5 separate regions of the Homo sapiens genome follow, and regions 1, 2, 4 and 5 are each linked to region 3. The links are contacts of gene promoters, found by promoter capture Hi-C in human tissues and cell types (Jung and others, 2019). All regions are on one chromosome and are shown on one strand. The core of a region is centred on a gene start or on the middle of the fragment in contact, and the rest is flanking DNA. Distances in the headings are between cores, read along the strand shown.

Evidence for each region. Contacts are between HindIII fragments. The study calls those that stand out against the background at their distance.
Region 1: a contact is called between a fragment that was not itself captured here and the fragment with the promoter of TYMS in region 3, in 1 of the 25 tissues and cell types used here (mesenchymal stem cells).
Region 2: a fragment that was not itself captured here is called in contact with the fragment with the promoter of TYMS in region 3 in 1 of the 25 tissues and cell types used here (dorsolateral prefrontal cortex).
Region 4: a fragment that was not itself captured here is called in contact with the fragment with the promoter of TYMS in region 3 in 5 of the 25 tissues and cell types used here (bladder, dorsolateral prefrontal cortex, hippocampus and 2 more).
Region 5: a fragment that was not itself captured here is called in contact with the fragment with the promoter of TYMS in region 3 in 1 of the 25 tissues and cell types used here (lymphoblastoid cells).

Annotation. Positions count from the first base shown.
Region 1 is chr18:919,146-923,392 of GRCh38, reverse strand. No RefSeq gene overlaps it. Among named protein-coding and RNA genes, the nearest start is that of LINC01904, 6.7 kb to the left of the region's middle. The HindIII fragment of the contact is 4,777 bases long and covers 1-4,247 here.
Region 2 is chr18:301,701-306,070 of GRCh38, reverse strand. No RefSeq gene overlaps it. Among named protein-coding and RNA genes, the nearest start is that of THOC1, 36 kb to the right of the region's middle. The HindIII fragment of the contact is 5,392 bases long and covers 1-4,370 here.
Region 3 is chr18:654,587-658,902 of GRCh38, reverse strand. TYMS (thymidylate synthetase) reads right to left here and starts at 1,250. Exons shown (of 7, transcript NM_001071.4): 1 at 956-1,250. The coding sequence starts at 1,160. TYMSOS (TYMS opposite strand RNA) reads left to right here and starts at 612. Exons shown (of 2, transcript NR_171001.1): 1 at 612-1,061. RefSeq lists enhancers at 538-657, 525-1,024, 1,025-1,526 and silencers at 888-937, 1,108-1,287. The HindIII fragment of the contact is 10,369 bases long and covers 1-4,316 here.
Region 4 is chr18:319,897-324,241 of GRCh38, reverse strand. It overlaps COLEC12 (collectin subfamily member 12), which reads left to right. Exons shown (of 10, transcript NM_130386.3): 9 at 2,435-2,580; 10 at 4,178-4,345. The coding sequence ends at 4,197. Among named protein-coding and RNA genes, the nearest start is that of THOC1, 54 kb to the right of the region's middle. The HindIII fragment of the contact is 5,241 bases long and covers 1-4,345 here.
Region 5 is chr18:143,360-147,819 of GRCh38, reverse strand. No RefSeq gene overlaps it. Among named protein-coding and RNA genes, the nearest start is that of USP14, 13 kb to the left of the region's middle. The HindIII fragment of the contact is 5,775 bases long and covers 1-4,460 here.

The DNA of each region.
Region 1 (4,247 bases), core at 1,070-3,569, 260 kb before region 3:
GCTGAATGCCCCAGGTCTCTCTCTGCCTGAAGGGGCCGAGGCCCTGCTGGCAAATATTTACTCAGTCTCAAAACATCCCTTCCAGAGTGATATTTTTATTTACTGTGCTGATGAAATACACCCCTTGGAGGCTGGTGAGGTAGCACCATGTGCCACTGACCCTTGCAGATCATCCATCACAGGGCCTGCGCCATCTCGCATAGTCCCAGAGTGAGTTTAGTTCTCTGGAAAGTTGGTTTAATGCCCAAATTGCAAGCTAGGTAACCTAAGGTGGACATTTTAATAGAGAGGAGTCTGTAAAACCATAAATCTGATTATATTCATTTAATAATTGAATTATATTGCCAAAAGGATGGACTACTATTTGTGAGATACAGACCTATTAAAAACACATGAAGATAAGAGATACCTGCATTTTCATGTCCATTGAAACGCTATTCACAATAGCCAAAATACGGAAACAACCATCTGTTGATATGCCCATCAACAGATCAATTGATAAAGAGTACGTGACATATACGTGCAATGAAATATTATTCAGCCATGAAAAAGAAGAAAATCATGTGCTAGAGCAGGGATGAGCCTTAAAGACATTATGATAAGTGAGATAAGCCAGACCCAAAAGGACAAATACCATGCGAGTCCACTTCTATGAGGTATCTAAAGTAGTCGAATCCACCAAAGCAGAAAGGACAGTGGTTGCCAGGGCCTGAGCGGATGGCAAAATGGGGAGGTGTTCAAAAGGTAGAAAGTTTCAGTTATGCAAGATGAAAAAGTTCTATAGATCTGCTGTACAACATTGCGCTTATAGTAAACAACACTGCACATACGGTACACTTAAAAATTTGTTGAGGGTAGATCTCATGTTATGTTTTTAAACACAAATTTTTAAACCTGATTATTCTCTACTGCATTGTAAATCGCAGACTGAATTGACTGTAAAATTATGTGCATGTCAAAAAAATATTACACACACGCAATGAGGATAGAGTAAGAACAAATGAAAACAGGGTTCTGGTGCAGACTCAGGCTGGGTCTGCTATGCTCAGCATCCCTAAATCTAGAACCAGAGCCAGCTTCATGGGTGTATGAACCATACGCTATGCTCAGAACAGGCACACACTTGGTTTAATACTCTGCTGTTGCTATCTAGAAATTCTTAATAATTTTTTTAAATTTTCATTTTGTACTGGGCTCCACAAATTATGTAGCTAGTCCTTCCCAGAACTAACTGTGTCTGTTTACACACATACATCGTTCATTCTGTGTGACTGGAAATTTCTGGTGTCCAACCATTATTATATAATCTGCGCAAGATGGAGCAAATGTTATGAAATAAGAAAATATGTCAAGATGTTAGACACAGGTGGTTTGCTAAAGGCTGCTTTTGTAACCATATAAAGAAATTAAGCTGCGGGGTTGGGGCATTGTAATTGAGGGTAAAAGAGATTTGGAAATCCCTTACTTTGGGCTTCCCTCTACCCAACAGGACCCAAGATGTACCTGTGGGCAGGCAAATTACCATTGCTACCCACCCAAGCCCGTCTCCCTCAAGGAATTGGGAAGACCTGGAAAACCATGCTCATCAAATTTCCTCTAGCACTAGCCTGCTGTCTCCTGATATTCTTCACTAAAAATGGATCCTTTGTGCTTATCATAGTAATGGTGACTTCTAGAAAATGTAAGCGATGAATGTTCTTTTTTGCCAAGCCTCCAGCTCAGTTCGCTAAAGGAATTTTTCAGGATCATCAGAAGGAATCGGAAAAAACAGATGCTTTCAGAGACTTGAATTAAGTATCCTTGCAACAACCAGGCAATAAAGTTGAATGTAGTTTTTAGACAACTTAAATGAAAATGGAAAGTTAAGTCTGGTCTAAATGACTATAATCTATACAGAGATAATTTATTAAGAATAACTTAAAAATATATTTATTTCAAGGTATAATCAGACAAATCCTTACTCCCTCAGTTTGTCTAAGTTTTTTTTTAATCTCATAGTAGGATGCCTTTTATAGTAATGTCAGCGATATAAACTACTCATTAACACTAATTGTCAACTTTAACCTATTAAAAAGAGAGAGAGAGAGGTTCTTGCTTACTACACCTCAAACAAAGATCCCATAAGAAAAGACAGGATCCTGCACCAGGTGTGTTGGTTCATGATTATAAACCCAGTATTTTGAGAGGCACAGGCAGGAGGATTGCTTGAGCCCAGGAGTTCGAGACAAGACTGGGCAACATAGTGAGACCTCCTCTCTACAAAAAATAAGCAAACGTAGCTGGCCATGGTGGCATATGCCTGTAGTCCCAGCTATTCAGGAGGCTGAGGTGGGAAGATCACTTGAGCCTGGGATGTCAAGGCTTCAGTGAGCCACGATCATGCCAGTGCACTCCAGCTTGGGCAACAGAGTAAGACCCTGGACCCTGTCTCCAAAGACAAAAAGGAAAAACAAAGATCCTCTCTCCATTACTGATAATATGCACTCATTAATTTATGAAAAATCTAGAGGCCTTCCTTTGGTAGTTTCATATCTCCTTTTTCATCAGCTCTTCCACCAGGATGCCTAGGAATCAGCAGATTGAACTGGCTTGCATTTTTGTTTCTTCTCCTTCCTTCTCTCTAATTGAAGCACAATTAAATAAACTTATGATCAGAAGAGTCTGATAATGGGATCATCAGCTCCTTACATAATTACAAAAGTTGTGTAGGCAAGATGTGCCCCCTACAAAATCATACTCCCAAGACAGGTTCTATCTAATTATGCTAAGAGCATCATTTCTTTCCCCAGCTCACTCCATGACCAATCATCTGGCTTGCACATGTAAGAAAGTTTATGAGAATAAATAAATCAGACTACCTTTCCCTGATGAACCCTGTTTACACTCAAAGTGGACTAGCCAGAAGAGATCCTAGCAGGGGATAATCCAAGAACATCTGCACCTACAAGTGAGATGGAAAATTTCCTGCCACTCAAGAGTCTCATGTCTGTTGTTTGAATGCCTTATTTTCTTTACCACTTCTCATCAAAGCTTACATTTTGGAAACATCCATGGCAATGGACAAGGACAAATATACTTGAGGGCTTTGAGTAACTCCAAGGAATTTGAGTTTTATATTAATGCCCTCCATTTTCTTAGAAAACAAATTCATTTGGTCAATCTATAACTTTTGGTAAGCAACCTATTATCTGCAAGTTCTGTTACCATTCCTGCCTGTCATCGGACAGCATAAAATTTATCACCGGTTTAGATCAGAAGATAACAAGAAAAATGGAATGGAAAGCAGTCCTTCAAAACTGAGACAACCTCAGCAAACATTTTCAGTATTCAAAGGAGTATGCTTTGACTTAATCGTTCAACAAGTTTTTGTTGTAGCCCAAATCCTTCCTAATATCTAATCAAAATCTTTCTATGTGGCTGGGCATGGTGGCTCATGCCTGTAATCCTAGCACTTTGGGAGGCCAAGATGGGTGGATCACCTGAGGTCAGGAGTTCGAGACCGGCCTGGCCAACATGGTGAAACCCCGTCTCTACTAATAACACAAAAATTAGCCGGGCACAGTGGCACATGCCTGTAATCCCAGCTACTTGGGAGGTTGAAGTACGAGAATCACTTGAACCCGGGAGGCAGAAGTTGCAGTAAGACAGGATCGCGCCACTGCACTCCAAAGTGAAATGGTGTCTCAAAAAAAAAAAAATCTTTCTATGCTATACCTTAAATTATATAAATCATATTTTTTCATGTTGTCTGTGTGGTAGAGAACTACTTGCCAACTTTCATAGAATTAATTTCAATTCAACAAATAGTGATTTAGTGCCCATTACGTGCCAAATACTACAGGCTCTAAGAATAGGAAGTTGAATAATTATGGTCCTCTTCCCATCAGCAAAATACATGCATGCAGCTACATGCTAAACTAGGAATATGAAGAAATGCAGCAGAAAAACAGAGAAAGGAGCTGGTTCTTCCCTGAAAGATCAGTAGCATTTCACTAGGAGGGCAAAGGGATAGAGCACTATTCTAGAGACAGGGGACCACAAACAAAAGGTGATAGATAAGAGCAGGAAACTAGAGTGAAGAGAACTGCTAAATACATGCTAAAGACTTTGGACTTCATCCAGTAGGCCACAGGAAGGCATAAACATTTATCAAGCCAGCATAGGGTAGTAGCATGACCAGAGTCTTATTTTAGATCTGTCCGGAGGCAGAGAAGACTGAACCGGGGGGAGTCACTAGAGCCAAGTTT
Region 2 (4,370 bases), core at 675-3,174, 350 kb after region 3:
CTATTTTACATTTTTTCATCACCTGGCCCAGCGCCTTATACATGAAATGCACCCAATAAATAGGAATCGGATTGAATTAAAAAACAAACAGAATCCTGGCCGGGTGCGGTGGCTCACGCCTGTAATCCCAGCATTTTGGGAGGCCGAGGTGAGTGGATCATGAGGTCAGGAGATTGAGACCATCCTGGCTAACATGGTGAAACCCCGTCTCTACTAAAAATACAAAAAAATTAGCCAGGCGTGGTGGCGGGCACCTGTAGTCCCAGCAACTCAAGAGGCTGAGGCAGGAGAATGGCGTGAACCCAGGAGGCGGAGCTTGCAGTGAGTCGAGATCGCGCCACTGCACTCCAGCCTGGGCAACAGAGCGAGACTCCTTCTCAAAAAAAAAAAAAAAGAAAGAAAAAAAGAAAACAAATAAACAAACAGAATCCTAAACTGATCTATATTTAATCTGATCTCAAGCTTGTCATATTTGTTTCTAGAAGAAATGAAACAAACAACCAAGGGTTTGTCACCACAGGAGAAGGTGACAGGCTGCCTCTCCCAGCCAAGGATGCGCCATTCTTGGCAGAGCTGCTGTTTGAGAGTATGCGTGACATTGTCGTCTTTTGTCAGACACACTGGTTCCAGTCGCATGACTGATGGCAGCCACTCTGCCCTCTGCCCAGCCCTGTCTCAGCTCCTTATGTAGTTAGTATGAGACTATAAAGCCGTGCAAAACTCAGGAGAGCCTAGAGGTGGCATGAGGCACATCAGTGAGTCACTTGTGTGGACAGAGCTCTGTGTGGCCGTTTTCCTTGGAAACTTGGCTATCGCAGGGCATTTAGGAGGCAGTTCCAGAAAGAAAAAAAAAAATCTGTCATCCAAGACAAAGACAGCAGCTAGCCCTCCTGGGGTAAGACAGCAGAGACTGCTCAAAACCACTTACACAGCTGGGGAGGGCTTGCAAACTGATGCCACTTATTTAGAAAATAAAAGAGAAACCCCAGATACCCTTAGACTGTCTCCAGGGCCAGAGACAGCATTGCCTGGCTCCCCACAGAGCAGCTCAGGAGAATTCAAGTCTTATGGAGAAGGCTCGCATCCCAGATGGCTGCAGAGTGGTAGCCTAGTGCTCTGGTCTAAGTGCTTATATCCCCCCCAAATTCATATGAGGAAATCCTGGCCCCTAGGGTGATGGTATTAGGAGATGGGGTTTTTGGGAGGTGATTAGGTATGGAGTGGAGCTCTTATGAATGGGATTAGCACCCTTATAAGAAGAGACATGAGCGGGGCTAACTTTCTCTCTCTCTCTCTGTCTCTCTCTCTCTTTCTCTCTCTGTGCCCTGTGAGGACACGGCAAGCAGGAGCCATCTATGAACTAGGAAGCAGGCCCTCACCAGATACTAAATCTGCCAGCATCTTGGTTCTTCACTTCCCAGCCTCCAGAAATGTGAGAAATAAATGTCTTGTTTACAGGCCACTCAGTTTATAGCAGTTTGTTATAGCAGCACCCCGAATGGACTAAGACACCCGGCAATGGCTGAGGGAGTGCCCTGGTCAGATGAACTTCAGGGCAGTCTCACAGAACCATAAGCCAAAGGTGCCTGTGAGCCCCTCAAGGAACAGGAAAGTGACTGAACACAAGCCACAATACCAAAGAAGCCAGGGCTAGAGATAAGAAGAGTGTGTGATCTTCACAAACATGATAGGAAACCCAAGAGGACCATGAGGACCAGAAAAGACAGCTCTCAACAGAACTCAGCAAAGGCAGAGGTCAGCGTGCAGCTGAACGCCTCTCATCGCAGGATGATACACATGCCAACCTCCTAGAAACCTAGAACATCCTAGGGGAGGGGAAGGAGGGGGAGAAGGAAGATCTTGCATTAATTGAGTTTGAAACTGTAGGAATCATATTTAGATCCAGAAGGGACTGAGTTACTTTGAATTGATGAAATTAAATTTTCTGCTCCCTGTGGAAATTGGGAAGTCAGTACTCAAGAAACTGACATATACGAGAAGCTGAATGGGCTAACTGTAAAATTAAATACATGTACTAAATATAAAATGAATGTACTAATACCTGTCTCACAGAATTCTTGCAAATTTCATTTCATTAATGTAGGAAAAGCACCTAGCACAGCATCTGGCTCCTAAAATGCAAGCTGCAGTCTTGGTTTCCTTCCTTTCCTTGTCATTCTATCTTTCAAGTCCCTGGTGCAGCTTAGGAAATAACAGCTTTTAGTCAGCCCAGACACCTAATAATATGGCCCAGATGAATGGCTGAGCAGTTTTATGGATAGACAAAAGAGTGGCCGCTCCTTAAAGAGGAGGTTAGCTCCACCCATAGGAAAGATGAGACCCTGAGAAGAGAGCAAGGAAGAAGCTGTGTTTTTTAAAGAGTTGGGCTGAGGAGTTTGAGACCAGCCTGGGCAACAAGGTGAGACTCCACCGCTACCAAAAATTAAACTTAAAAAAATTAGCTGGTTGTGGTGGTGCACAACTATGGGCCCAGCTACAAGGGAGGCTAAGGCATGAAGATTGCTTGAGCCCAGCAGGTCGAGGCTGCAATGAACAGTGTTCTCACCACTGCACTCCAGCCTGAGTGACACCAGCAAGACTCTGTCTAAAAAAAAAAAAAAAAAAAAAGAGTTGGGCTGACGAGCAACTCCTTAATCCCACCTAGGGACTTTGTAGTCTGCGAATCAATACAGTGGCTAAATTATTAAATGTCCTCCCTAGCACTGTATTTGGAAGAAATCTCAAGAGAAAGGTTATTTCTTTCCATGCTCATACTAGACTGGGGATCATCATCCTACAGTCCACAGGCCAAATACAGCCCACTGTCTGTTTTTATAAATAAAGTTTTATTGGAACACAGCTGTGTTCATTGTGTACTGTCTATGGCTGCTTTTGAACTACAATGGCAGAGCTGAATAGTTGCAACAGAAACCATAATGGCCTGCAAAGCTGAAAATATTCACTATCTGTCCCTTTGCAGAAAAAGTTTGCCAATACTTACAGTAGACATATAATTTATTCTTCTATAGTGCTTAGAAATTATTTCACAGAGCTGGGTGTGGTGGCTCATGCTTGTAATCCCAGCACTTTGGGAGGCCAAGGCGGGTGGATCACTTGAGGTCAGGAGTTCGAGACCAGCCTGGCCAACATGGTGAAACCCTGTCTCTACTAAAAATGCAAAATTAGCTGGGTGTAGCGGCACGTGCCTGTAATCCCAGCTACTCGGGAGGCTGAGGCAGGGGAATTGCTTGAACCTGGGAGGTGGAGGTTGCAGTGAGCTGAGATCGCACCACTGCACTCCAGCCTGAGTGACAAGAGTAAAACTCCACCTCAAAAAAAAAAAAAGAAAGAAAGAAACTATTTCACACATATAATTTTATCTATTTAGGGCCAAATACCTCTATGGATTAAGATATTTTATCAGTCCTATTATTATTATGTTGCTATTATGCTTCTACTTTACAAAATGAGGACCCTGGGGCTCAGAGTGTTAATGGACTTGCTGCTGGGTAGCAGAGCCCTAAACCTAGTCCTATCTCCATTCCACTATTTTCCCACTCTCCTTACAATATAATAATAATATAATTGGGAGTCATAATGTGACCTACCGTTTCAGGGCACACAGAATCATCTTAATTAGCTTTAAAAGCAAAGTGGTACCTTCAAAACCACTCTTGTAAGACGTCACCAAAAATAGCACCACTGGTCAGAAATGTTCCTTTGGCTCAGTGTTAGAAGTCCACACCCAGCCCAAGGCCACATCAAGTTTCCTGCCTATGGAAATGAGGTTAGCAGCGAGCCTGAAGTCACGTCACGTGGCATGTGCCCTGTGTCACAAAAGCAATATTTACATCATCCTAGAAGCAGAGGCATTTTATAAAAGTAGCACATCAAGTCATGATTGTCAAAAAGTTAAAAACATAATTTTCATGCCAGGCATGGTGGCTTGCACCCGTAATCCCGGCTCTCAGGAGGAGGTTGAGGCAGGAAGATGGGTTGAGGCCAAGAGTCCGAGACCAGTGTGAGCAACACAGTGAGTCCCCATCTCTAAAAATAATTTTAAAAAACATATTTTCCTACACATATACAATGGGTACATGTTATTAATGATGGAGCTAGCAGGATGGAAAACCTGGTTTAAAGTAAACAGGACATGGACATCCACGTCTTACAGAGTCAGGATATAGATAATGAAAAAACGGTTATAGGCATGAATGTTTGTAGCAGCTTTATTCATAATGCCAAAAACTGGAAACAACAATATGTTTTTCAATAGGTGAATGGATAAACTAACTGTGGTATACCTGTCAATGGAATGTAATTTGGCAACAAAAAGAAATGAGATATCAAGCCACAAAAAGCTAGGACAT
Region 3 (4,316 bases), core at 1-2,500:
CTAGATGGGTCCGTGGGCCGGAGGGCTTTTCCGCTAGCTACAGTGAATCTGCTTCACCACGAATGGGTTTCCCCATTCAAAACCACCTCCACCCCTGTGTCAAGGCTGCGCTCCATTTATCTGAGCGGTCAAGGTCAGCCCCTGGCTCACACACCTTCGAGTCCCCTCCCCCGCGCAGCTGGCGCAGGATCCAGGACGGCAGGACGGTGTGGCCTTAGGGAGGGCCAACGGCTGCCTAACGTCCTGTGCCCACCCCGCCCCGCCCCACTGTCCCCTGAAAGCCTGGCGCCAATGACCCGCGAGACATTTTTTGCCTGGGGTGCTCCTGTCGGAAAGGAAAGAGGAAAGGACGACTAAGAACTTATACTCGAACTCCCGAATTTCTCTTTTCAAGGTTTAAGAGGAAAGCTGGTTCGTGGGGATTGGATGGGAGGCCACCAGGAAACCAAGTTCCCGCGCCAGCTTCAGTGCTCTCCTCTTCCCGCCGCCTTTGCCCCGCCCACATCACTTTCGCTCCAGTTTTTGAAAACGCTGCGAAGCGGAATGGTCCACAGGGGAAAACGGAGGAGGGGCCAAAGCCAGGACTTTGAGACCGGCGCGCGGTCAAGCCCAGGCAGCTCTCCCTAACCCTCCAGCACTGGGCAAACGCTGCCCGATGACGCCCGCCTCGGGGGCCACGGCATCACTGGGGCGACTGCGAGCCCGGCCGCGGAGCCGCTGGGACGCGGCTTACCTCCCGGCTGTCGCTGCTGTGTGTGTTGCCCGCGCCAGTCACGTCCCTAATGGGACCCTCCGTTTCGGCGTCTGTAAGGCGAGGAGGACGATGCGTCCCCTCCCTCGCAGGATTGAGGTTAGGACTAAACGGGGTCCGCAGCGCCCGGCAGCTCCCGAGCGCTCTCCCCAGCCGCGCCTCCCTCCTTCCCGCCACCCGTCCCGCAGGGGCCCGCGGCGTCACCTCTCAGGCTGTAGCGCGCCTGCATGCCGAATACCGACAGGGTGCCGGTGCCCGTGCGGTCGTCCTTCCTGACGCCGCAGCGGAGGATGTGTTGGATCTGCCCCAGGTACTGCAGCTCCCCGTGCGGCGGACGCGGCTCGGCGTCCCGCTCCTGTGCGGCGGGGGGCAAGGGCCGGCGCGGCAGCTCCGAGCCGGCCACAGGCATGGCGCGGCGGGCGGGGGACGGAGGCAGGCGAAGTGGCGCGGCGGGACGGAGGCAGGCCAAGTGGCGCGGCGGGACGGAGGCAGGCCAAGTGGCGCGGTGGCAGGACCCCTTCCGCGCGCCTTTTCCCGCGGCCGTCCCGCGCTCCGCCTCTTCCTGCTCGGCGGGGTCGCGGCGGCCCCCGCTCTAGAGAGCGTGCGCCAGGGGGAAACGCAGGAGCCACGGGTGTGGCACAGAACGGAGCCCAGGGCCACAGCTGAGAGTCTTAGGAAACCCGGGAACCTGGATGCAGGTGCGGTGGCTGGGAAGGACTGCGCCCTTTGGGAACCGTCTGGTCGACCGCGCCTTCTCTAAGCCAGCAGCACAGTTCCCACGTTTTCCTGCGGTCTTGTCAACAAAACTGCTGTTTGAGATCTGTTTCCTACAACTAATAAGGGATTTGCATTTCCATTTCTTCGTTCTCACTGAAGCAACCGAAGCAAGTGGTATAATGCAGCTTTTCTACTTGATTAAAAACCGCCAGGGCGCTGGACGCGGTGGCTCACGCCTGTAATCCTAGTACTTTGGGGGGCCGAGGCGGGTGGATCACCTGAGGTCAGGAGTTCAAGACCAGCCTGGACAACATGGTGAAACCCCCGTCTCTACTAAAAGTACAAAAATTAGCTGGGCGTGGTGGCTACTTGGGAGGCTGAGGCAGAAGAATTGCTTGAACCTGGGAGGCAGAGGTTGCAGTGAGCCAAGATCCGACCATTGTACTCCAGCCTGGGCGACAGAGCAAGACTGTCCCAAAAAAAAAAAAAAAAAAAAAAAAAAGACCGCCAGGGCTTTTCCGAGGTTTTTTGTTTGAGCCCTGGCGGTCTTTTTTTTTTTTTTTTGAGACAGAGTCTCGCTCTCTCACCCAGGCTGGAGTGCAATGGTGCGATCTCGGCTCACTGCAACCTCCGCCTCCTGGGTTCAAGCAATTCTGCTGCCTCAGCCTCTCGCGTAGCTGGGACTACAGGCGCCGCCACCACGCCCGGCTAATTTTTTTTTTTCATGTTTAGTAGAGACGGGGTTTCGCCATGTTAGCCAGGCTGGTCTCAAACTCCTGACCTCAGGTGATCCACCCACATTGGCCTCCCAAAGTGCTGGGATTACAGGCGTGAGCCACCGCACTCGGCCCCAAGTTTTTAATAGACCACATTTCCCAGTTTTACTGAATTGTTTATAACATTAACACTGGGGAGTGGGAACTGTTGATGAAAAGAGTTAAACTCTGTAAAATATCTGAAGAAATTTATTCTGAGCCAAATATGAGTGACCAATGGCCGGTGATAGAGCCCTCAGCAGATCCTGAGAACATGTCCCCAAGGTGGTTGGGCTACAACTTGATTTTTTATACATTTGGTTGAAAGAATTGTTATCTAAAGATCTGGAATCAATAGAGGGCTGGGCGCGGTGGCTCACGCCTGTAATCCCAGCACTTGGGAGGTCGAGGCGGGCAGATCACGAGGTCAGGAGATTGAGACCATCCTGGCCAACATAGTGAAACCCTCTCTACTGAAAATACAAAAATTAGTGGGGCGAGGTGGCACACGCCTGTAACCCCAGGTACTCAGGAGGCTGAGGTAGGAGAATCGCTTGAACCCAGGAGGCGGAGGTTGCTTGCAGTAGCTGAGAAAGCGCCACTGCACTCCAGTCTGGGTGACAGAGCCGTATGGGGAAAAAAAAAAAAAAGATTTGAATGAATAGAAAGGAATATCTGGGTTAAGATAAGGGGTTGTGGAGACCATGGATTCATCATGCAGATTAAACCTCCAGGTAGCAGGCTTTAGAGAGATAGATTGTAAATGTTTCTTGTCAGACTTAAAGAGTGTGTTCTACCTGTCTTGAGGCCTGTGTTGATGTCAATGCTGGTCAGCTGTGCCTAAATTCCAAACGGAGGAGGGAATAATGAGGCATGTCTGGCTCCCCTTCCCATCATGGCCTGAACTAGTTTTTGTGGTTAAATTTGGAATGCCTTTGACCCAGAGGAGTGGTCTTTTCAGATGGTTCTGGGCGTAGAATTTTATTTTTGGTTTACAGAACGATTTTATAATGAGTTTAAAATGCACTGATACATGTGTTGTACTTGCAAGCATCCTTTTACCTCAACGGTTGATTGAGTACAGAGGTGCTCTCAGCATTTTGGGTGGGACTTTTCTTAGCTGGACCGGTTTGTTCTGCACATTGCAGGGCTTTAGCAGGACTGTGGAAAGCCAACCATATGTTGGCATTCCCCCACCCCACACCAGCTGAAAACTGTCCCTACACGTTTCCCTACACGTTTCCGAGCACGAGGAAGATCCCAGGCTGAAAATATTCCAGATTATCCAGATGCACGTTATCTGTGTTTAATTTCCTTGTGTTATTCTTTTTCCTTTTTTTTTTTTTTTTTTTTTTTTGAGGTGGAATCTTGCTCTGTCCCTCAGGCTGCAGTGCAGTGGTGCTCAGCTCACTGCAAACTCCGCTGCATGGGTTCAAGCAATTCTGCCTCAGCCTCCCAAGTAGCTGGAACTATAGGCGCCTGCCACCATGCCCAGCTAATTTTTTTTTCTTTTTTTTTTTTTTTGCATTTTTAGGAGAGACAGGGTTTCACCATGTTGGTCAGGCTTGTCTCAGACTTCTGATCTGAAGTGATCTGCCCACCTCGGCCTCCCAAAGTGCTGGGATTAAAGGCGTGAGCCACCATGCCCAGCCTTACTTGTGTTATTTTTTAAAAACCTGATACATAATAATTGTGAGGTAGACAGGGCTTGACTCTGGAGGCAGGGCTCTGACATGGGACCAAATTGAGGAGTAGTCAAAACAAGGATGGGGCAGAAGTAGTTTTCCATAAGACGTGCCCACCAGTGTGCCATGTCAGTTTACGATTGTCATGGCAACATCCAGAGCTTACTGCCCCTTTCCATGGCAGTGAGCCGACAACCGGAAGTTACCACCCTTTTTCTAGACATTTCTGCATAATCTGCCCCTTAATTTGCATGTAATTGAAAGTAGGTTATAAATATCACTGCAGACCTGCCTTTAAGCTACTGCTGTCAGCACACTGCCTATAGGGTAGCTCTGCTCTACAGGGGCACTCAGGGAGCTGTTGCCATATCAGTAGAGCTTTTCTTCTACCAGGTAGCTCTTAAATTC
Region 4 (4,345 bases), core at 1,258-3,757, 340 kb after region 3:
ACACGTTACGTTCTATATTATTATAAACATGCAGACTGAGGGGTTTTGCCACAAATCACTCCATGTGATTTTAGCTTTGCCAAAGAGATGCTTTGAGACTCTGGGTGGTCAGCCCACAGAATAAATTGTCCCTTCAGTCTGGCTTCAGGCTACCCACTTTCCACCCATTCTGGCCTACTGCAGTCACCTCCGCTTATGGCCACAGAACTGCATTCTGCTTTTAGTCCTAAGGAAAGCCTTGAGTACTGTATGTGAAGAATTCCAGTGACCTGGAAAAACAAATGGAGAAAGGCGATAAAGATTATCTCCTTTCTTATCACTCAGTTATTTCTCTGCCTGGTTGATACATCCTTTTTATTTATTTAACTTAAAATGACTTAAAAGGAAACGCAAGGGGAAAATATTAAGCAGGACTTCTAAGCCCAAAGAAGTCATATTTATATAATTTCCCAATTAACTGAGAAGTCAAGAATATCAAATATCCTATCATTATACATTCAGGAATCATAGATCTCAAATTTTATAAACAAAAATGGAATCAAACCCCCCATATTACTGGCAGAAATGAACGAAATGTATGTCCACAAGATTAAACTGCTCAGGCATTGTTGACATCTCCAGAAGAATCTCACAAGGTGAAAAGAGTTACACAAAAAACCAAATGTGAAAGTAAACTACTTTTCTTTCCAACTTCATCTCTATCTGGCGTCAGGCTGAGATTGTCACAGGCTGAGATTTTGAACTCATTGTGACTCATCTGTTATGTAAGCTGTAAGAGTTGGGACTTTGTCTCTTCTCTGCACTGCTATGTTGCCATCACCCAGATGATACCTGGCTCATAGCAGGAGTGCTATGGATGCCTGGTGTGAGTGAGTGAGTGAGACTATTTTCTAACTCTCCCTTCTAAGTAGCATCCCATTTTTACTCTCACCAATCGATGGTTTCCTCTGAATTCTCTTTCATCACTAGGTTTATTTAATTGAGGCCACTCAATGTATATATATATATGTATTTTTGAGATGGAGCCTCGCTCTGTCACCCAGGCTGGAGTGCAGTGGCATGATCTTGGCTCACTGCAAACCTCCACCTCCTGGATTCAAGCAATTCTCCTGCTTCAGCCTCCCAAGTAGCTGGGACTACAGGTGCCTGCCACCATGCCCAGCTAATTTTTGTATTTTTAGTAGAGACAGGGTTTCGCCATGTTGGCCAGGCTGGTCTCGAACTCCTGACCTCAGGTGATCCATCTGCCTCAGCCCCCCAAAACGCTGGGATTACAGGCATGAGCCACTACGCCCGGCCTTCATACTCATTTTTTTTAAATCCCAAAATACACATTTGGTGTGGGGGAGTCAGTTCTACCCTGTCCCCACCCTTTGACTAAACTTCAACTGTCCTTTCCCGCTGCCTCTGGTTTTGCGGGTGTTATTGTCCAAAGATACAGGGCCATACAGGCTGTCTCCTCGGGTGACCCGAGGACACCCTGTGGCCAGTGCGGTAATGAGTCATTGTTTATAGGAAGCACCCTCCGCTGCAGATGTTCTTCCAGACCCTCCACATGAGGCAGGCTTGTCCTCTCAGGCAGCAGCCACAAGCTTCTGTGCATGAATCTGCTTCTTAGACAAGATTGAACCTTCAAGGGGTGAGTCTGGAAGCACACCTGATTTATTCGTGGAAACGTAATCAAGAACTGTTATCCATGGCAAGGTGCTGTTCTGAGCAGCAGCATCCAAGTTAAGAAGCCCCATGTGAACTCATCCTAAAGAAAACTTGTTTTTAAGAATCTCTCTCCCAAAAAAGGGAGTGAAATGTAGGAGTCATTTTCAGTAAGATTAAGTTACTATTTCTTTCTAAAGCAATCAACCTTCTACAACTCACCCAGACAATCATAACCAGTTATTTGTAATTGTAGGTTCTTGTAAATGTATATCAAAAGTCTTTCACTTTCTCTTCCTGGCTCTTGGACTTGTTAGAGGCAAGATATTGAAATGTACAAGGTCCCTCTGGGTTCTCACAAGATCATGTGTGCGTGTGTGTGTGTGTGTGTGTGTATCATGTCCTCATAATGAATAGATATTCACACACATATATACACTCATGCCCAGAAGTCAGCATTCCAGTACACATTAGAAAGTTATTCATCTAACTGTCCCAAAGCAAGATTCGCTCCCTCTGCATTCTGATGAACCAGCCTAGTGAGTTTGGTTCATGGTAGCAAAGATCACAAGCGCGCAGGGAGATGCCGCATTATGCATTACTCTGCAAAACAGCTGCTCCTTTCTCTGAATAAGAGCATGTACTGATTTTTAAACTGCATTTTCATTCCAGGATAAATGACATGCTTCAATTTTGTTTTTTTATATTCTCTGCTGCTCTTGAGTAAAGAAAAGCTCTGCATTACTGTGCAAATAACATTCAATTTCTGTTTTGCTAAAAGAAATTGGAAAGCTGGACAGCCGGATAACTGGGGTCATGGCCATGGGCCAGGAGAAGACTGTGCTGGGTTGATTTATGCTGGGCAGTGGAACGATTTCCAATGTGAAGACGTCAATAACTTCATTTGCGAAAAAGACAGGGAGACAGGTGAGCAGTAGATGGGATTTAAGAGGGAGCTGCCAGCTTATGTCCTATGAAAGGGTGAGGGGTGGTGAGTACAAGGGCCCTGAATGCAGGCACTGCAATTAGGTTTCAGCCCTGGTTATGCCATTTATTAACTGGGCAGGTGATTAACCTCAGGGAAATAGTAATAGCATCTTCTTCACGAGGTTGTGAAGATTTAAATAAGTTAATAAATGTGCCTCACATGTAGGAAGTACTCAACGAATGCTAAACTAACTGACCCACATAAGTATCTTATATTGTGAGTTAATTGTTCTTTAAAATATAGCACCAGCCAGGCACGGTGGCTCACGCCTGTAATCCCAGCACTTTGGGAGGTGGAGGCGGGCAGATCACCTGATGTTGGGAGTTTGAGACCAGTCTGGCCAACACGGAGAAACCCCATCTCTACTAAAAATACAAAATTAGCCGGGCATGGTGGCGCATGCCTGTAATCCCAGCTACTCAGGAGGCTGAGGCAGGAGAATAGCTTGAACCCAGGAGGCAGAGGTTGTGGGGAGCCGAGATCGCACCATTGCACTCCAGCCTGGGAAACAACAGCGAAACTCCATCTCAAAAAAGAAAAGAGATATAGCACCAATGTTAGTTCTTTTCCGTAGACATCCATACACAGCTAATCCAGGTGGCCAAGCGTTCAATTCCACGTGTATCTATTGAGCATCTACTATAGGCCAGATCCTGTGATACATAATAGAGGGAGATGGTCTGTGCTGCTTATCAGCTCATAAGCCAAAGCAGCTTTTGGAGATTTTCTTGACTTCAAAGGCTATGTATCTAAAGCTTCATTTAACACACGACCCTCTTTGGAATGTGGCATCTTAGTTTTCTTCACCAGAATGAGATTAAAAGTTTGTGATAGGGGACAGAGGAAATGGGGAATGAATGCTAATGGGTATGGGGTTTCTTTTTGGGGTGATGGAAATGTTCTAAAATTAGATTAGATTGGTTCTAAATTGCATAACTTTGTGACTATACCAAAGACCACTGAATTATATGCTTTAAATGGGTGAATTATACAATTTGTCAATTATATTTCAATAAAGCTGTTCATATAAAAACAAAAACCTCAAATATATTTTGGTCAAACTATTTTTGGAAGTAACTGGGGCATAAATTATCCGTATTGCCATTCAACAGACAGTTACTGAGCACCTTTGATGTGTCAGGCATTGGTCCAAGTGCTAGGGACCTTAAGACACATAGGAACTCACAGCTGGGTCAGTTGAGGGGGAAAAACACAGATATCTAAACAAGGGATTATAATTGATGGTGACAAGTAACTCAGATTTGTCTTTTGTATGCTTTGTTTGGCCATTTGGGATTTGAGTAGGGACCAGGCTTTCCCAGAATAGGCTTTTCAAAATGAAACTTGGCTTTTCAAAATGAAACTTATCTTTTCATCCAAATAAGATCTTCTAGACATTTCTTTGAAAATATAAGCATTGTTGAATGATGTATTTTAGACACTGTCCTATAAAAATACACGTTCCCTTTTTTTGAATTGCACATTAACTTTATTATTTAAGAAAAACTAATGCCCATTCTTATTTCTCTCTTTTAGTACTGTCATCTGCATTATAACGGACTGTGATGGGATCACATGAGCAAATTTTCAGCTCTCAAAGGCAAAGGACACTCCTTTCTAATTGCATCACCTTCTCATCAGATTGAAAAAAAAAAAGCACTGAAAACCAATTACTGAAAAAAAATTGACAGCTAGTGTTTTTTA
Region 5 (4,460 bases), core at 512-3,011, 510 kb after region 3:
CTTTCTTTTTTTTTTTTTTTTTGAGACAGGGTCTCACTTTCTTGCCGAGCGTGATCACAGCTCACTGCAGCCTTGACCTTCTGGGCTCGGGTGATCCTTCCACTTCAGCCTCTTGAGTACCTGGGACTATAGGTGTGCACCACCACACCCAGCTTTTTTTTTTTTTTTTTTTTTTTTTGAGGCTGAGTCTCGCTCTGTTACCCAGGCTGGATGTAGTGGCGCGAGCTCTGCTCACTGCAAGCTCCGCCTCCCGGGTTCACGCCATTCTCCTGCCTCAGCCTCCCGAGTAGCTGGGACTACAGGTGCCCGCCAATGCGCCTGGCTAATTTTTTTTTTTTTTTGTATTTTTAGTAGAGACGGGATTTCACCGTGTTAGCCAGAATGGTCTCGATCTCCTGACCTCGTGATCTGCCTGCCTTGGCCTCCCAAAGTGCTGGGATTACAGGCGTGAGCCACCGCGCCCGGCCTCACTGCACTGTTCATTGACCTTAGAGTGTTTCCTGACTGCTGTTATATAAGATAAGAAAATTAGAATTTTTAGCCTTCCCTTCCCTTTTTATTTCCTTCACTTCCGATGTCTTTCAGCTACACCATTACTTATATAGTGAAAGATTTTCAACAACAGAAACTAAGAACATTATAGAATTAAGAAGAGGCCGGTCACGGTGGCTCACGCCTGTAATCCCAGCACTTTGGGAGGCCGAGGCGGGCGGATCACGAGGTCAGGAGATCGAGACCATCCTGGCTAACACGGTGAAATCCCGTCTCTACTAAAAATACAAAAAAAAATTAGCCGGGCGTGATGGCGGGCGCCTGTAGTCCCAGCTACTCGGGAGGCTGACGCAGGAGAATGACGTGAACCCGGGGGGCGGAGCTTGCAGTGAGCCGAGATCGCGCCACTGCAGTCCAGCCTGGGCGACAGAGCGAGACTCCGTCTCAAAAAAAAAAAATAAATAAATAAAAATAAATAAATAAATAAATAAATAAATAAATAAAAAATTAAGAAGAAATGGACAAAAGTGATGGAAGCCCCAGAGGGCTGGGCAACGGAGTGATTTCTGGCAATGAGACCTGCTGAAGACGTTGCTGCCGAGAGGAACGAATTCTTTCACCATATTATTAACATTAGCTATATTAACAGTACTTTCAGTCAGGGTAGGTAGGTGAAGCGCTCTCTTGCATAAGTACTAGATAGCCTCACTTATTCTGTGTATGTCTGCAAATATCTTTATTTCAATCTTGTTCTTGCTGATCGGTTAGCTGAGTAGAGATTAATAGATTGGCAGTAATTTTCCTGAGCACTTTGAAGAAATTTCGTTGTCTTCTGTCATTTACTATTGCTGATGAAACTTTTTTTGTTAAGTTTAATTTGTTGTTACCTTGTAGATAAGGTCTTCTCTCTCTAATAACTCTTAGAATTTTCTCTTTGTTCTTAATATTCTGCAGTTTCATGTAGCGTGTTCAGCTGTGTATTTAATTTATCCATCTCAGTACTAGGAGTGAAGTTTTGAGCTGAGACTTAGGTTTTTGGATGCTGCTTATTCTCTGTTTTGAAACTACCATTGTTTTTTTAAAAAATAAAAATTTCTTTTAATTATTTATTTATTTAGTAGAGACAGGGTTCCACCATGTTATCCAGACTGGTCTGGAACTCCTGAGCTCAAGCAATCCTCCTGCCTCAGCCTCCCAAAGTGCTGGGATTACAGGCATGAGCCACCATACCCAGCCAAAATTTTCTCTTATAATTCATATTTTTAAAAATTAACAAAATTTTTTATTCTTGCTGTCATCTTACAAGTGGGTTTTTATTGAAGCTTCTCTTTTCTTTCTTTCTTTCTTTTTTTTTTTTTTTTGAGACAGGGTCTCACTGTGTCACCCAGGCTGGAGTGCAGTGATACAATTCTCTGCTCACTGCAGCCTCAACCTCCCAGACTCAGGTGATCCTCCCACCTCAGCCTCCCAAGTAGTTGGGATTATAGGTATGCGCCACCATGCCTGGCTAATTTTTGTATTTTTTGTAGAGACGGGGTTTCACCATATTGCCCAGGCTGGTCTCAAACTCCTGGGCTCAAGCAATCTGCCCACCTTGGCCTCCCAAAGTGCTGGGATTATAGGTGTGAGCCACCTCGCCTGGCCTGTTGAAGATTCTACATCCTTCATTTGTCTTACCTGGTCTCTCATATTCTTTTATCTCTTTATCTCTGTGGTAAATTATGTTTGAATTCTCAGTACTCTCTTCCAAATCATTAATTCTCTCTCTGTCCAGTCAGCCGGTTTTCCCGTCTATTGTTTTATATTTTAATGATTATATTTTACACTTCCAAGATTGCTTATTGGTTCTTTTTTATAATTGTCCTGTCTTGTGTAATATTTTTGTTTTCTTTTCATAATTTATTGGTCTTTTTGAAAAGAATATGATCCCTTTAAACTAATATTTTTGTCATTACTATTTTTTAACTTATTATTTGAAGTAATTTCAAAATTACAGTAAATTTGCAAGAGTAATACCAGGAACTCTTGTTTACCCTTCACTAACATTTCACCATAGTTGCTATATATGTGTGTGTATATATATATATATATATAATATATAGTTATAGATACATAGATATAAATCTATATATAGACACTCATGACATTTGTGTTAATCATTTGAGAGTAAGTTGCAGATATGATGTATATTTAGCTCTAAATAAATCAGTGTTATTCCGTAAGAACAAGAACATTCACTTGTATAACCATAGGACAACTACCAAAATCAGGATATTCACCATAATACAATAACACTATTACCTAATCTATAGACTTTATTCAAAGGACATTTTTGCAAAATGTCCTTTCTAGTAATTTTTTTTCTAGTCCAGGATCCAATCCAAGATCATGCCTTGCATTTAGAGTTACGGTTTTTAATCTTTGTAAATTTCAAACAATAATTCCCCAGCCTAATTTTCATCTTTTAAAGACTTTTACATAAAAGAAAATTCACCTAGAATAAAATCATTATGCCAGTTGCATAGTGGATAGTACAATGAACCTCTGTATTCCCATATCAAGATTTAACAAAATTCAAGTTTTGCCTATTTGTCTCATCTATTCTTTCCCCCTTTTTCTTTGCTTAAGAACCTCTATTAACCATCCCTAAAAGTATAGGAATTATTTTCTTATATAGCTATAATATCATTATCTTACCTAACAAAATTAACAATATTTTCTTGGTATTATCTATTTTGTAGACCATAGTCAACTTCCCCAGTTGTTTTTAAAATGGTGGGGTTTTTTTGCTGGTTTTCTTGTTTGTTTTTATTTGTTGATTATAGTTTATTTCTTAGAGTTAGGATCCAAATGAGATCCATAGATTACATTTGTTATGCCTCTTAAGTTCCTTTTGAAATAAAGCTGCGGCCTCTCTCTCTTTTTTTTTTTGGACAGAGTGTTATCCAAGCTGGAGTGCAATGGTGCGATCTTGGTTCACTGCAACCTCCACCTCCCAGGTTCAAGCGATTCTCCTTCCTCAGCCTCCGGAGTAGCTGGGATTATAGGCTCGCACCACCACGCCCAGCTAATTTTTTTTTTATTTTTAGTAGAGATAGGGTTTCACCATATTGGCCAGGCTGGTCTCCAACTCCTGGCCTCAAGTGATCCGCCCACCTCGGCCTCCCAAAGTGCTGGGATTACAGGCGTGAGCCATCGCACCCAGCGGCTGCTGCCTTTCTTTAACCTCACTACGTTATTTTCATGCCATTAACTTTTAGAAAAGCCAGGTAAGCCATTCCATAATATGAAATGTCCCATATCCTGGAGTTGTTGGTTTGCTGCTTTGTGGCACCATTTACCTTGATTTTCCCTGTATTTCTTGTAAGAGAAATTAGCTGTAGAGACTTGATTACATTCTAGCTAAGCCTTTTTTTACAGAAATACTCCAAGAATGATGCTGTGTGCTTCACGTTGCATTGGATGAGGAGGCGCACAGCATCTGATGGTCCCAGGCTTACTAATGATCAGGTGAGCTTGATGGCGGGGCAGAGTTTAGGTGAGACTCTGTGATCTCCCCATTGTTAGGCTCCCTGTTGTGAACCAAAGGTATCTGAGACAGGTCCCAATCAATTCAGAAAGTTTATTTTGCTAAGGTTAAGGACACTCCCAAGACACACCCTCAGGAGGTCCTGACGACATGTGCCCAAGGTGTATGGGTACAGTGTGTTTTTATACATTTTAGGGAGACATAATACCTCAGTCAATACATGTAGGATATACGCTGGTTCGATCTGGAAGGGAGGAAGGGTGGGGCAACTCGGAGTGGTGGGGAGAGCCTTCCAGATCATAGGTAGATTTAAAAATTCTGATTGCCAGTTGGTCGAAAGAGTTATCAATAGCTGGGCACGGTGGCTCACGCCTGTAATCCCAGCATTTTAGGAGTCCCAGGCTGGTGGATCACCTGAGGTTGGGAATTTGAGACCAAC